Regions from separate parts of the Homo sapiens genome. Here region 2 is linked to region 1. Evidence: promoter capture Hi-C in 16 types of primary human blood cells and fetal thymus (Javierre and others, 2016). All regions are on one chromosome and are shown on one strand. Each heading gives the region's core, a stretch centred on a gene start or on the middle of the fragment in contact. The rest is flanking DNA. Distances are from core to core; before and after follow the strand shown.

The links. The method cuts DNA at HindIII sites, captures the fragments that hold promoters and counts their contacts. A CHiCAGO score of 5 or more calls a contact.
Region 2: a contact is called between the fragment with the promoter of SCLY here and the fragment with the promoter of ASB1 in region 1, in 3 of 17 cell types (total B cells, naive CD8 T cells and total CD8 T cells). The highest score is 9.0, in total B cells.

Annotation. Positions count from the first base shown.
Region 1 is chr2:238,420,978-238,428,931 of GRCh38, forward strand. It overlaps ASB1 (ankyrin repeat and SOCS box containing 1), which reads left to right and starts at 5,950. Exons shown (of 5, transcript NM_001040445.3): 1 at 5,950-6,142. The coding sequence starts at 6,094. It overlaps LOC124908002 (a long non-coding RNA gene), which reads right to left and starts at 5,917. Exons shown (of 2, transcript XR_007088163.1): 1 at 744-5,917; 2 at 409-639. RefSeq lists cis regulatory regions at 318-1,003, 1,174-1,806, enhancers at 749-1,408, 4,531-5,066, 6,579-6,698 and silencers at 5,399-5,788, 5,809-6,328. The HindIII fragment of the contact is 6,850 bases long and covers 859-7,708 here.
Region 2 is chr2:238,056,460-238,064,413 of GRCh38, forward strand. It overlaps SCLY (selenocysteine lyase), which reads left to right and starts at 4,542. Exons shown (of 12, transcript NM_016510.7): 1 at 4,542-4,684; 2 at 7,898-7,954. The coding sequence starts at 4,596. UBE2F-SCLY (UBE2F-SCLY readthrough (NMD candidate)) reads left to right here. Exons shown (of 19, transcript NR_037904.1): 8 at 699-791; 9 at 7,898-7,954. RefSeq lists an enhancer at 823-992, a cis regulatory region at 908 and silencers at 3,952-4,161, 4,302-4,751. The HindIII fragment of the contact is 10,603 bases long and covers 1,108-7,954 here.

The DNA of each region.
Region 1 (7,954 bases), core at 4,700-7,199:
AAAGCCCAGCCCCCTTTGGGCTTCCAAGAGCAATTCAGAATTCCTATGTGGAAAAGGGGAGAGGGGCAAGTTCCCAGAGAGACGAAGGGCAGAGCAGCCTGGAGACTTCCTCTCTGCTGGGACACCGCCTGCTCCGGCTGTCGGCAGCCTTCTTCAGGTCCCCTGTCTTTGTAAAAAGTGCTGCTCAAAGCTGGGACTTAAACTAAACAGATTTCCTAGAGGAAACACACACACACCATCACACTCTGCTAACGTTGCTTTTATGGACATTTCCCTGAGAAATATTTCTCTCTGGAAAAATAAATTCACAGGATGTAATTAAAACCATGATGTGTGTATGTTGGCCAGGACTCTTCTTAAGTGCTTCACCAAATGGGCCACCAAATAAAGCAATGAAGGCCGGCTTTGTTCACGTCGATTAACAATGCTATTTATTAATTGTAACACAGGGCATTCTCTTGGTACTTTATGGTTTCAGAAACAGCCTTGCGGTTGGCCCTTGCCCAAGGCAGCCTCAGTTGTGACCCCAGTGTGACCTCTGCAGGGAGACACCGCGAGGGCTCCTCCGTGGCACTGGATGAGGCGACAGGCTCAGCTCCACCGACACGCCCATTCAGGCGTGTGTTTTCTGCTGATAACCTAGGGGAAAATACATTCCAAACATGAAAAAGTTCCTGAAAAAGAAACTGTTAGCAAAGCAGTGCTTTTGAGTAACAGGGCTAAGGGGAGTGAAGTCTTCTTACCCTCGGTGTGGCTCCTGGAGACGCCTTCCCGCTCTCAGCCCGGGCTCTCCTGCTGGGTCCTCGCCGCAGGGAGCGACTGTAATTCCAGTTTCCTTACTGGATGTATGAGCCCTGAAGCTTCGGAAACAGTTCACCACAGACCCGTGTGAAGCCCAGGTGCAGGCAGGGCTGCGCTCCCCCGACCCCCACGTTCTAGGGGAGGGTCCTTGTTGCCTCTGCCAGCTTCTGGGGGCCCCAGGTGTTCCTCGGCTTGTGGCCACGTCGCTGCACTCTCCACCCCCGTCTTCACGCTGTCTTCTCTCTCTCCAATCCGCCTTTGCCTTTCTCTTGTAAAGGCAGCTGCCATTGGATTAGGGCCTGCCCTAAATCCAGGACGATCTCATCTTGAGATCCTTAATCGCATCTGCAAAGACCCTTTTTCCAAATAAGGTCCCATTCACGGTTCCGGAGCTGAGACCGTGGACATCTCTGTTTTGGAGGCTGCCATTCAATGCCCCCATGCTGCTCTATAGGTTCCTTGGGATGGTGTCCAGCTTTGCTCGCCCCTGAACCCTAGAACCCCGCTGCCCTGGTGTGGCAGTTTGTCAATTTCAGAGCATGAATGCCTTTATCCATTGGTTCAGGAACAAGGCCTGGGCCAGCTCCTGTGACAGAATCAAAATACCCGTCCCACCAGAAGCCACTTTCGTGGAACCTAACTGTCTGCCAGGAGAGATAGGCCAGCTCCTCCGGCAGCTGCAGTCAGGTGAGGAGATAAATGCTGCTGGGAGGACCTGGAGCCAAGGCCCCAGCTGCGGGGCGGAAAGCGGGGGTGCGGTGGGGGAGGCATCTGGTGAGGGGGAGAGGTCCCCAGGACAGGGGTATGGGAGGGAGGGAGCCTCGTGCGCAGACCCCAGGGAGAGAGTGCTGGCCCTGGAGGGTCAGGTTCTAGGCAGGGCGCTTGGGAGCTGGAGGAGGGGAGGGAGGTTGGGGCTCTTCTCGGGAAGGGCCTCAGATGCCCAGGCTCCTCCAAGAGCCTATAGATGGGCATTCGGGACCGTGAAGGAGTCTGTGAGCCCGAGTGACAGAGACCAACTGGTATGGCAGGAAAAGTTCACCTGGCGGTAAGGAGGGCATGGTGAGGCCAGCCCAAAGACTCCAGCACTGCCGCAGGACAGGCGGGGAGCGGAGCTGAGGGCTGGGATAGGGTCTCCACTCACCCTGCTTTGAAAACTGGCAGCTCTGTGTTCTGAGGCCCACTCAGTGCTGGGCAAGCTGGGCTGTTGGTCCCGCTGTGGCCGAAGAGTCTCTAAAAACCTCCTGTCTCTGCTGCCAGTCCCTGCTCTGGGACTGAGATTTCCTCACCTCTGACTCCTCCCGCTGTGGCAGTGACCAGCACATGGTAGTTGCCTTCCACAGGTGCTGCCTGGAGAGACGCAGGCCCTGGTAGAGGATGCAGGGGCTCACTGAGCGCTGTGGCCTCCTGACACTAGTGGAGTTCTCGGTCACACCAAGGGAGGCAGCACAGCACCTGTGAGGGGGGCTGAAAGAGGGCACCCCCTTGGCAGGACTCCCAGGGCCCACACTGTCCTCTGCAGTCCCCACAGCTGGGCTTCCCGGTCCTCCCTGGGACCTCCACTGCCAGGCTAAACCACATCCAGGCAGAGGCCGACCTGGCTGGAAGAGGGAGGCTTCGAGGGCTGCAAGGAACATCACGGCCTGGGCCCTGCCCAGCCCCACCAGCCCCAAGCTGAGGGCCTGCTGGGACACTGCGTCTACCCCTGAGCCCTGCTCTGTTCCAAGCTGGGCAGAGAAGGTGGGCTCAGTTTAGGACAGGGTGGGGTGGGGTGGGAGGCTGGAGGTGGGCGTGGCTCCACTCAGCAAAGCCATGCCATAGCGTTAGCAGCCATGGCACCGATGCCCACTGTGTCCTGAGGCTCTCTCTGCCCCAGGAAGCCTGTGGCACATTCTATGGGATTTTGTGTCTTTACAAAGCCTGCAAAGTGGGTATTATCAGCCCGATTTGACAGGGAGGCAGCTGGTGCTCAGAGGAGTCACCCTGTCCTGGTGACTCAGCTGGAAGGATGTGGATCTGCCTCCCTAGCTTGGGGCAGACACCCTGACTCTCTGCAGGTGGGCTCCAAGGCCTGAGACAGGGTCTGCGGGGCAGGGGCTGGTAAAGATGTTTCCAGGGCAAAGCCTGGAGGGTCAGCGGGCTGCCCTCATCTCGTGGCCTCACCTGGTAAACCTTCAGATCCCCTGCTTCCTTCAAAGCAGGAGATCCTTCAAAGGGGAAGAGAGGGCTGGGCCTCCTGGGAGGAGACACCCCAAACACAGGCCCACAGGGCCTAGGATCAGGAGAGATTCCCATTTCTGGTCCCTGCCTGGGTGACATCTGCTGCCCAATTCCCGGAGACAGCTGTGGGGGTTAAGCGACAGCAGCACCAGCACACCCAGGCCCAGCAGGATCCTCACCAGCCTGCAGCTGTGGAGCTCATGTTTCCAGCCCCCCATATACCTGCCATGCTTCCAGAGGGGCCCCCAGTTCCCTGCAACAGGAAGGATGAGGGATGGGGGCCCCTTCTCAGACCTCCTGAACCAGAAAGTCCATTGTTGGACATTTTTGTTATAAAATGATGGTAATGAGCACTACTGTAGCTGAATCTCCCCCACATCTGATTATTTCCCTAGAATGAATGCCTGGAAGAGGCATTTCTGATCAAGGATTATTCATTCTTATGCTTTAGCTAGACTGCCAAATTTTCCACCACAAAGACTGGGCTAGGCTCCACAGAGGGGTCACTGGGGACACTTTGGGGGAGGCCTGAGCCTCCAGGAGGCAACAGGAAGCGACGGGTGATTTTAGGGGTGGGAAAACGGGAGGGAGCCACTGGGACCTGGAGGGGCAAGACAGCCCACTGCACTGGTCCTGTTGCTGCTGTGCTGGGCTGGGATGGCACTGGTAGGCACTGGTAAATCCCTGTTGCTTGTAGGTGATGGGACCCAAGTTGCTTCATCTCTAGCGGTCACTGAGTGTCCCTGTGTTGGTGGGTCTTTTGGGCTCAGAGGACCTGGAAGAAGAGGGACTCTGGAGAGGTGAGGTCAGAGGGGGAGACAGGCTGTAGGGCTGGACAGTCTGGATGTGATCCCAACTCAGCCACCTGTGGGCTATGTGGTTTTGGGCATAGCACCAGGCCCCCAGATCTCAGGGTCCTGAGAAATGGGGGTGATGGTATTGGCAGAGTGGCCAGCAATTGAGTGTCCTTCCCCCTCCAGCACTGCTGGCTCTGTGGACACTGCCCTGCACCATGTGGGCATTTAGGAGGCACGGAGGTGGGCATGTGAGGCCACCTCCCCGCTACAGACCACGTGCGGCCTCAGGTTCTTCTAAGAGGCAGGATCCCAAGGGCAACACGTGGCAGGGAAGGTGGAGGTGCAGGTGCAGGAGGGCCACTCTGCTCAGGGACTCAATACCTTGATGCAAAGGCTACCGACACGCAGAACGCTCACTGTGAGCCCACCGGGACCAGGCAGGCAGAGCAGCGGAGGCCCCCGGAGACGTGGCTCTCACCAGGCTGCACTTTAGAATCACCTGGGTGCTCTGAACCACCCAACACCCAACCCGCACCCCTGACTGACTGCACCGGAACCTCTTTTAAAAAATTCTTTAAAACAATTGTGGTAAAATATATAGAACATAAAACTTAACCTGCTTTAAATGCGCAGTTCAGTACTGTTAATGCACAATTCACATTGCTGTGTGACCCGTCTCCAAAACTTTTTCATCTTCCTCAACTGAAGCTCTGTCCCCATGAAAAACTAACTCCTCATTCCCCACTCCCCCAGCCCTTGGCAACCCCCATTCCGCTCCACCATTTCACTGCTCCAGGGACCTCAAATAATTGGAATCACACAGTACTGTATTTGTCTTTTTGTGGCTGGCTTATCTCACTCAGCATAACGTCTTCAAGGTCATCCGTGTTGTGACGTGTGTCAGGATTCCCTTCCTTTCTAAGGCTGAGTACGAATCCATTGTATGGACGGACAGCATTTCCTTTCTAAGGCTGAGTACGATTCCATTGTATGGATGGACGGCATTTCGTTTATCCATTCATCCATCCAACAACACGTGAGGCGGCTTCAGGCTTCGGAGTTGCTGAAGCTCCGAGTTCGGGATGTGCAGCTGTGGTGGAGCCAGGGGCTGGGCACACCCCTGGCTCCTGGCCTGGCAGCGTCATCATCGGAGTCACCTGTCCCTCATGCCAGTGGTGCTCTCTGCTGTCATCAAGACCAAACACCACTGTAGGAAGTACCCCCACTCCCGCCTCCAACCCCCACAGGGCCTGCCAGGTCTGCCCCCAGTGGGCCCCCTGGTGCATCTGGGCCACCCAGGGCCAGCCTCAGCAGGGGCACTCGCGGGGCTGCGCCTGCGGCTTCCCTTACTCCAGTCTGGAATGTTGTACACACGGATGAGCCAGCAGCTCACGCCCACGACTGCTGGGGTCTCCGGACTCCCTCATCAGCCTCCTGCTGTGCTGTGTACAAATCCTCCTCCTGCATGAGGCCCCGCTGTCTAACTCAGCAGGGGAGAATGGGAGGAGCCAAGGGAATCCGTGCTTTAGGACCAACACCAATACTCATGGTGGGACGACGCTGCGATATTTGAAGTTGGGAGTGTGCAAGAAATGTTACTCGGTTGTTCACGAATGCATTCATTTATTCAATGAACTTCGCGTCAGCCACTGGCTGTCATCAGTTACCGACCTGATTGAGGGCTTCATGGAAGGGATTTGGAGGAGCATTCATCTAAAACCACAGCACGCTGCGACGCTCAGCCCTGCAGTGGGCCCTCACCAGTCCCCGCGCCTCCGAATCCACCCTCCCGGGGCTGCTCGTGGCTAGCGGGGGGCACCTGCGGGGACCAAGCCAGCCCGGCCGAGGCCCGGGTCCCGCCCGCCACGGCCCTCGGGGCCCCGCCCACATCTGGCAGAAGCCACGCCCCGTCCGTGTGGGTGGGGACGGCCCGCCGGACCGAAATTCCCAGACTGCTGCCTCAGGCAACGGGCTTTCCGACTCCTTGGCTTCTTATGTGAGGAAACCACAGCGCGGCCGGCATCCAGAGAGTCGGTTAGCCGCGAAGTTCCCGCCGGACGAAGGGACCAGCCAGCGCCCTGCTAGACAGCGAGGCCGGAAGCGGAGGCGTGGCCCCTGCGCGGCCCCGGAAACCAGTGAGGCCGGCGCGCGCCCGCCGGAAGCCGCGACCCCGACGCGCCCCCCATTGCCCTCGGCGCCGGAAGTGGTCGCGGGTCGTTCTGCTTCCTGCCCGAGGGGCGTGCGCGGGTCAGGGGCGGCCGCGGAGGCGGAAGCATCCATGGCGGAGGGCGGCAGCCCAGACGGGCGGGCAGGGCCGGGCTCCGCAGGTAACGTGCGCGCGGCCACTGGGCCGCGGGGCGTGTGGGGATGGCGAAGGGCTGGCTCCGGCGTCCCTGCCGAGGTCCTGCGTCCTCGTCCCGGGCTGGCCGGGTCCACGGGGCAGCCAGGGAGCCGCACCCTGCAGGCCGGGGGTGGGGTTCAGCGCGGCTCGCAGTGCTGGGCGACCCCACCACGGACGCGCTGCCCTCTCCTCGGCCTCGAGTGCAGTCCCCGCGCTAGATTTTCTTTCCGGTGGAACTTGCTCGTAACTTCCTTCCCGTTAGCCGATACAGATTTGATATGACCCAACCGCAAAAGTAGGACGTGGGCCACCTTCCAGCTCTGAGCGCACGGATCAGGAAAGCCAGCCAGAGGGTAGCCCTAGGGAGGGCAGGCACTTTTTCACCATTCTGCCGCCCACGGCGTGTCCGGTGGTACAGCGGGGGGCAGCCTTCCCACCCACCACAGGCACAGACCAGGGACAACGGGGACGCCGTCTCCAGCGAGCTCGTCAGTGACACAACATGTCCAGGGGCCTTTGGCCCACCAGCAAGGGAGGCAGATAGAAAGGCTCACACCCACCTTCCAAAATAACTGTCCTACTTAGGGTCTCCACCTTGCAGTGTCCCTACCATGCAGATGTGAAGGAAGCGGTCAGGACAGGTTCCCGTTTCCCGGTGGTGTGGTGGGAGTTCCTTCTTGCTGGATTTCTGAGCTTGCCATTCGCGCCAATAGTTTCGTGTGTTCTGGGCTTTCTTTACATGCCTATATTTGTCTTTGGAGGGGTTCCTCTCCTACTTAGTAATAAACCAATACATTTCTTAAACATCTTAAAAGATTGACTTGGAGACTGGTGCAGATAGGCTTTTCCATCCATCCCTCCCTCTGCACCTCCTTCCAATCATTTAACAGACTTGTATTGAAGACCTGCTGTTGGCTAGACCCAGCAGAGGATACTGCAGTGACCAGAAAAAGCCAGACAAAGCATCTACCATCCTGGGCTTTGGTTGGCGTTGACTTTGACTTCAGAGACAGCCAGGACCTTAGGGTCTAGGATGTCATCTCATGTGAGAGTGAGAGACGGAATGATGCGTGTTCCGTGGGAAAAAGAGGACCAACAGCTACTTCCCAGTATAAAGAGAGTTCCTGGGGAATAAACACTGGCTTTGTCGGCTGCACAGGTCTCCTTTTTTTTTGAGACGGAGTTTCGCTCTTGTTGCCCAGGGTGGAGTGCAGTGGCGTGATCTCGGCCCACTGCAGCCTCCGCCTCGGGGGTTCAAGCGATGCTCTGGCCTCAGCCTCCCTAGTAGCTGGGATTACAGGTGCTGGCATCATGCCCGGCTAATTTTTGTATTTTAGTAGAGACGGGGCTTCACCATATTGGCATATTGGCCAGGCTGATAGCGAACTCTAGACCTCAGGTGATCTGCCCGCCTCTGCCTCCCAAAGTGCTGGGATTACAGGCGGCAGCCACCACACTCAGCTGAGGGCTCCTTTTTATATCCTCATGCACTGCTGTTTTGTTATTCAGTGTGTTTCGGCCTCGGGTAGAGGGGCAACAGATTTTCAGTTGAAGCTTAAGTGCTATCCTGGGGCAGTTGTGTTGTCATTGGAGTAGTTGATCAGCGAAACACAAACTTGAAGTTGCTTTTGAATCTGGAGCTGGGGAAAGATTCTGAGTCTACTTTGAGCAGGGCCAGGAATGGATAGCACAGAGGCCAGCAGAGGGGGCCCAGAAGAGGGCTCAGCAAAAGTCCTGTGGCCGCCATTTACCTGTTGGTTATTGCCCTACACCTGAATCTTTCCCACTCCGACTTTGA
Region 2 (7,954 bases), core at 3,292-5,791, 370 kb before region 1:
TCTCCAGATATGACCAAAGGACCCCTGGAAGGAAAAATCACCTCTGCTTGAGAATCACCATATTCAATGGACAATTTTATTTCATATTTTCCATCTCTATCCTTTTGAGCAATAATCAGAGAATTCCTAGGGCCAGTTCACGAATTCACTCCTCAGCTATGCCTATTCTGCTCTTCAACCCATCTATTGGGGGGTTCTAAAAAAAACAATAAACCTTATTTATTAGAGGAGTTTTAGGTTCACTTGAAAATTGAGCAGTTACCATATATCCCCTGCCTGTGCACATGTACGCAACCTCCTCCACTATCAACATCCACTGTGGTACTTTTGTTAACAACTGATTAAACTTCATTGACACATCATCACCCATAGTCCATAGTTTACATTAGGATTCATTCTTGGTGTTGTATCTTCTGTGAATTTTGACAAATATATTACATGTATCCACCATTATAGTATACAAAATAGTTCATTGCCCTAAAAATTCTGTTCTCTGCCTATGCATCTTTTCCTTCCCCAACACCTGACAACTCATGTTGAGTTTTTAAACTTCAATTATTAATGTCTAGTATCTCTTTTCACTGTTTGTTCTTGTTTCATGACAGCCTATTTTTTTTTTTAAATAAAATACCCATTTGTCTCAAGACCTTGCTCTATTGGAGACCTACTCTGATAGCTCTATAAACTTTTTCCCTTAGGTGAGAATTCTATTTGGTGCACGTGCTATTGTGTCCGGAATTGGTGGGTTCTTGGTCTCACTGACTTCAAGAATGAAGCCGCGGACCCTCGCGGTGAGTGTTACAGTTCTTAAAGGCGGCGTGTCCAGAGTTTGTTCCTTCTGATGTATGGATGTGTTTGGAGTTTCTTCCTTCTGGTGGGGTTTGTGGTCTGGCTGGCTCAGGAGTGAAGCTGCGGACCTTCGCGGTGAGTGCTACAGCTCTTAAGGCGGTGCGTCTGGAGTTGTTCGTTCCTCCCGGTGGGTTCGTGGTCTCGCTGGCTTCAGGAGTGAAGCTGCAGACCTTCGTGGTGAGTGTTACAGCTCATAAAGGCAGTGTGGACCCAAAGAGCGAGCAGCAGCAAGATTTATTGCAAAGAGTGAAAGAACAAAGCTTTGACAGCGTGGAAGGGACCCGAGCGGGTTGCCACTGCTGGCTCGGGCAGCCTGCTTTTATTCTCTTATCTGGCCCTACCCACATCCTGCTGATTGGTCCTTTTTACAGAGAGCCGAGTGGTCTGTTTTGACAGGGCGCTGATTGGTGCGTTTACAATCCCTGAGCTAGACACAAAGGTTCTCCAAGTCCCCACCAGACTCAGGAGTCCAGCTGGCTTCACCCAGTGGATCCCCCACTGCGGCTGCAGGTGGAGCTGCCTGCCAGTCCCGCTTGCCCTGCGCCTGCACTCCGCAGCCCTTGGGCGGTGGATGGTACTGGGTGCCCTGGAGTAGGGAGCAGCGCTCGTCTGGGAGGCTCAGGCTGCGCAGGAGCCCATGGAAGTGAGGAGGTTCAGGCATGGCAGGCTGCAGGTCCCGAGCCCTGCCCCACGGGGAGGCAGCTAAGGCCCGGCGAGAAATCCAGCGCAGCGCAGGTGGGCTGGCACTGCTGGGGGACCCAGTACACCCTCCGCAGCCGCTGGCCCGGGTGCTAAGCCCCTCATTGCCCGGGGCCGGCGGGGCCGGCTGGCAGGCCGCTCCGAGTGCGGGGCCCGCCAAGCCCACGCCCACCCGGAACTCCAGCTGGCCCAGAAGCGCCCCGCGCAGCCCTGGTTCCCGCTCGCGCCTCTCCCTCCACACCTCGCTGCAAGCTGAGGGAGCCGGCTCCAGCCTTGGCCAGCCCAGAAAGGGGCTCCCACAGTGCAGCGGTGGGCTGAAGGGCTCCTCAAGTGCCACCAAAGTGGGAGCCCAGGCAGAGGAGGCGCCGAGAGCGAGCGAGGGCTGCCAGGGCTGCCAGCACGCTGTCACCTCTCACTATCTTCATGGAGATGCCATTCCTCAAATGTCTGGCCACTATGGGGCACTTGTGTTTGTATTAGAGACATCTTGGTAGGTCATCTGTTGCATGTGTGACCAGTATACTTGGAATGGTGGTAGCTGCTGCTGCGTGTTGTACCCTAAACTGTTTTCAGCTGGGCTACCTCAGCACCTGGGCTTCTGTATGTTTGTACTCAATTCTTTCGGGGTATCACCAGCCATGTTGGACACTATCTTGTCTGACTCCACCACTACACTCACTATGTTCACCTGGAAACACAAACCTTATTGCTGCCTAACTGGCCCAAGGAGTGCTTGGGATGAATCGTCACTTTGTCCATTGTCCTTGGGCTCCTATCCTTACAGCCTTCCAAACAGATTTAGAGAATGAATTCTCCCCATGCCTATCAACTTCCCTAGCCACCTTTACTCTTAACTTCATCCCCTATCGTCTCCTCCAGGACTTTGGCTCCTCTTCCTTGCACGTCCTGTTGGCTAACTCCCTTTAGCCTATGAACATGTTCAGTCTCTATTTGCTCTTAATCTTTTTTTTTTTTTTTTTTTTTGAGACGGAGTCTCACTCTGACTCCCAGGCTGGAGTGCAGTGGCATGGTTTCAGCTTCACTGTGTAACCTCCACCTCCCAGGTTCAAGTGATTCTCTTGCCTCAGCCTCCCCAGTAGCTGGGATTACAAGCATGCACCACCACAGTCGGCTACTTTTTGTATTTTTAGTAGAGACGGAGTTTTGCCATGTTGGCCAGGCTGGTCTCGAACCCTTGACCTTAGGTGATCCACCCACCTCAGCCTTTCAAAGTGCTAGGATTACAGGGGTGAAGCACCGCGCCCAGCTTGCCTGTAATCTTATACGCCTTTTTAATTCCTCCTTTCTCAACCGTTTTAAGAGTTGACTGCATTCTTCATTTTTTCATATCCCATCTTTGCATTCTAACTTCCATGCCTCTCCCATCACTGAGACTTCTCTCGCTAGTTTATCAGTGCCTCCTAATTGTTACGCACAGTAGACTTCGGATTGCCTCTCAGCCACACTTTACACTATTATGTGTCTTCTTGACTTTTTTGACATTCCTTCTCAATTCCCTTTCCTTTCCTCCTCTTTTGACTGTTCTCATGCTCCTGTGCATCCATTTGCTTCTTAAATGTTGGTGGGCCCTTTGCTATTGGCTGCATTTGGCAAGAAATGAGCTGCGTTTATAGGGAAGAATGAGAGAGAATGAGTCCAGAAATTTGCAGATTTGCTGTGCTGGAAAAGCCAAGTTATTCTGGACCCCAACAGGACACAAAATAGAGAAAGCCCATGAAAAGCCAATTAAAATTCAACCTCTTGGCAAAGCATGCTTGAAACCGAATTTTGGCTCCAGCCACTACTCGTGTGAACTTGGGCAAGATGCCTTTCTGTATCTTGGATTCCTCATACATAAATACCTACCAGACTGGGTTAATCATCAAGATTAAATTAGTGAACACACGAAAAATACCTAGAACACTGCCTGGCATAGTTCAAGGCTCAATTAAAGGTAGACACTATTATGCCAAAAAAACAAAAAACAACAAAAAAAGTGACGGTAGGATGGCTTCGTGAGGATTTTTGCTCATTTCTACCACTTTCTCAACTGACTTTTCTTAATGGTTGGCGGGACACCAACCATTGGTGGATGTTTACACTTGTGACTGTCTCACAGACAACTCAACATGTCCAAAGCTAAACCCATCATCTTTCCCCCTCCCGTCTTCCCTCTTACCCAGATAAAGGCACTAACATCTTCCCAGTCACTTGTCTAATCCTTGCTTCCTTCCTGTCCCTCATGCCCCAATTCCTATTTAACGGCCTAAACAGATCTTGAATTAATCTTTCCTGCGTTTCCACGCCCACTTAGAGTCCCTCATCTCTGGCCCTATTTTCTCAATGCCCTCCCATCCTCTACTCCAGATCCCCTCAAGTCCATCCTCGATGCGTGACTCTTAACTTCACGCCATCCAGGTCCCCTATGGAGCCGCTCCGACTAACGGACGCGCAGGTCCAGCGGACCTGCTCATCACTGTCCAGGGTGGCCTGCGGGAGACCCCCGGGGCCCTGGCCCTGCTGCCGCGGCCCCGGCACTTCCCCTCGAGGGTTCGCGGGGAACAAGGCCGCGCGGCCCCGGCTCTCCCGGAGTGCACGGTCCCGCGCTCATGCGGCTAGAGGGAGGCACCCGCAGGACTGCCCAGCCGCCTCTGCTCCTCAGGTCCAGCTCGGGCCCCGCCTGCTCTTACGCCGACTAACCGGCCGCGGCCCGATGGCGGCCCTGCCGCAGACAGCAAAGGTCACGGGGCTCCCCCGGAAGTGAAAGTGCGGGGATCCGCCGGCCCAGGAGACGCGGCTTCTAGCGCCCGGTTCCCGGGAAGCTCTGTGACGCGCTAAGCCCCGCCCCCACCCGTCACCTGACCCAGCGCAGCCTCGCCTCCCCGCTGGGGGCTCGGCGGCCCTCTGAAGCGGGTGGATTGGCTGGGGTGCTTCGCTCAGCCAATCCGGACGCGCCCGGGCGTCGCGGCCCCGCCTCCTCCCCGGCGCTCTGGGCCCGTAGCGCTCCGCGGGAAGGAGGCTGGATGCCCGGCAGCAGTGGGGCGGGGATGGAGGCGGCCGTGGCGCCGGGGAGGGATGCGCCGGCACCCGCGGCGAGTCAGCCCAGCGGCTGCGGGAAACACAACTCGCCGGAGAGGTGCGCGCCTTTAGGGCAGGGCTGGGGAGCGGCCGGCGCCTGTCGCCGATTGTCCCGCGCGGGAGGACGAAGGGGGCTCCCGGCCTGTGGCCGCTCTCGCGTGGGGCGTCCCGCGCGGGGATGTCCGCGAGGTCGGCCTAAGTCAGGGATGCGAGCTTCAAGGAGGAGCGGGTGCGAGCTGTGGCCCCGCAAGGGCCCACGGAGAGGTGACTTTGGGGCCGAAACCCGAGTGACTTCCAGGGGTGAGGTTTGCAGGTTCTGGGGAAGCAGAGCCTGCCAGGAAGAGGGCACAGCAGATGCGAAGGGCAGGGGACTTGCCGGAGGTGAACCGGCAGAGCCCCTGAGCCCGGGAAGAACTTTGGGGTTCATTCGGAGCCTTATGGGGCCTCGGAAGTTGATCACGGGGCGATGCAATTTAAGTGTTTTGAAGGAGTCCTTCTGGCTGCTTCCTAGAAAGTAGGGGCGCGGGTAGGCATGGGACGAGAGGAAGCCGGGAAGCCAGTTGGGGATCTTGTAACAACCTAGGAGAGAGATGTGGTGTGCGCCCAGAAACGGATGCGTTGGTAGGAAGCTGGTGCACTGGGGCAGGTGAAAGGGAATCAAGGGTTCTCCCAGACTGCTGGCCCAGCTGCAGGAAACGGGATGGCCACCGCTGAGAAGCGCGGAGACCCGAAGCACGTGGTATCCATACTAGTTAAGTCCGAGAAGAGCAGGAGGCAGGGGTATGCATTTTCTGGTTTGTGTGTCTTCTTTCCAGACCCCTCTTTTTCCTTTTTGTGAGCTCATTCGCTACCCATGCTTAGAATATGAGGGGGTCCAGGCCTAAAGCACACACATTTGGCATTCTACCTTGGTTGGAACAAAGTGAAGGGATCTGGGAAAATATCCCCTAGGGAATCAGTGGAGCGAGATTCCCAAGATTTTTTATTTTTTGGTTATGAAGCTAACAAAGTTGAGCCTGCTCATCCAATACTGATAGCATTTTAAGGAAGCAGCAAATAATGAAGCAAAGGAATGTGTAAAGTATTAATCTGAACAAAATAGATTTGTTCAGCCCAGCAGCAGATTGAAGAGCTACAGTCGCTCAACAAACACTAGCTAGCCTAAGGTACTTTGGATGCTTATTTATAGGAAAGAAAAACAGATATAAGGGCACATGCAAAGTCAAGCCGGGCTGGGGGATTCCTAGGACTATTAATACTAGTACCAGAGTGGTAAAGGATGGCGAGTCAAACTTGTCAAAGCCTTGTACCTATTGAGTGATTTTTTTTTTTTTTTTTAATTGAGATGGAGTCTCACTCTGTCACCCAGGCTGGAGTGCAGTGGTGCAGTCTTGGCTCACTGCAACATCCACTGCCCGGGTTCAAACGATTCTCCTGTCTCAGCCTCCCAAGTAGCTGGGATTACAGGCACGTGCCACCACGTCCAGCTAATTTTATTGTATTTTTAGTAGAGATGGGGTTTCGCCGTGTTGGCCAGGCTGACCTTGAACTCCTGACCTCAGGTGATCTGCCCGCCTTGGCCTCCCAAAGTGCCGGGATTACAGGCGTGAGCCACAGGGCACAGCCTGTTGAGTGATTTTGAACAGAAAAGATGCTTCATTTCAACTAATGCACATTCTGTCCACACTCAGTGGCTTAACAGCCACAGTTAGTCATTGTATCTGGGTTTTCATGTGGATTGGTGTAAGCACTGTTTATTTAAAAACTAGATAAATTAATATCAGGCAGGACTACTACTACACATTTTTCTAAAGGCTTTCGAAGGTTTTGGATATTAGTAAAAAGATATACAGATAAATTTTACTTAGTGAGGGATCTTTCAGGGAATTTGTACTTTCTGTGGCATTTATTTTGTCATCTTATAAAAATCAGGCCCCTGTTGTGTGGCAACCATGGGCTTCAACATTGGTGACAGGGCAGTGAGAAAAACAGAGCCCCCATGCCCATGGAGCCATACTTCTGTTACTCTATTAAGGTAGACAGTAAGGGAACAAGTCTGGTATGTCAGATGATGATGCTGCCCAGAAAGGAAGGCGGGAAGGGGACCTGGAGGCTGGGGAGGTAGGGACATAGGTGGCTGCAGTTTTGTGGGTTTGTTTTTTTTGTTGTTGTTTTTTTTTTTTTTGAGACGGACTCTCACTCTGTTGCCCAGGCTAGAGTGCAGTGATATGATCTCGGCTCACAGCAACCTCTGCCTCCTGGGTTCAAGCAATTCTTCTGCCCCAGCCTCCCTAGTAGGGCTAATGTTTGCATTTTTAGTAGAGATGGAGTTTCACCATGTTGGCCAGGCTGGTCTCAAACTCCTAACCTCAAGTGATCCACCTGCCTTGACCTCCCAAAGTGCTGGGATTATAGGCGTGAGCCACCGCGCCCAGCCAGCTGTAGTTTTAAGCAGAGCTGCAGGGCAGGGGGTCTCACAAGAGGACTAAGTTGGAACAAAGACCTAAAAAAGTAAGGTGGGGGCAGGGCATGTAGTCTTTCTGGGCAAAGAAACTGAAAGTGCAAGGTCTGGGGCCAAAGTTCACCTGCCCCAGGGAGAAGCCCAGGTCACTAGGAGCCCCACAGGCCATCGCAAAAATGAGTGTGGGGAAATAAGGCGAACCTCTGATGAAGTTAAAACAGCAGACAGGAAAGTTCCCTTGGGGAATGTGCAGCTGTTCCCCTCCTTCCATAAGGAAGAGGCCAGTGATCTGCCCTTTACAGCAGTCAGATGGGTAATCTGGGCCCAACAGACCATTAATCCTACCAAGGGGTAGAAAGAGTGTTTGTTATTAGAGACTGGGTCTGGCTGTGTTGCCCGGGCTGGAGTGCAGTGGCTATTCATAGGCACCATCATAGCTCACTGCAGCCTCAAACTTCTGGCCTCAAGAGGTCATTCCGCCTCAGCCTCCCACATGGCTGGACTACAGGCACAATCCACTGTGCCTTGCTAGAAAGAAATTTTGAAAACCGAAATGAAAATCCAAGTCCTATCAATTATAAAAGAAATTGACAAAAACTAGAGTCTTAGAAATTATGCATGCATTTTCCATAAGTAGTGTAGATCTGTAGATTCCCAAGTGCAGCTTGTGGATGCCTGCAGTGCTTATGCAGAGGATCACCATGCCCTTGACATTATTTGCTCCTGCCGATGGGATAGACACAGAGCAGCCATATTTCCCATATGCCATCTCCTTTTCCTTAATGGGTGTCTTTGCTTTCTTTCCTTCAGGAAAGTTTATATGGACTATAATGCAACGACTCCCCTGGAGCCAGAAGTTATCCAGGC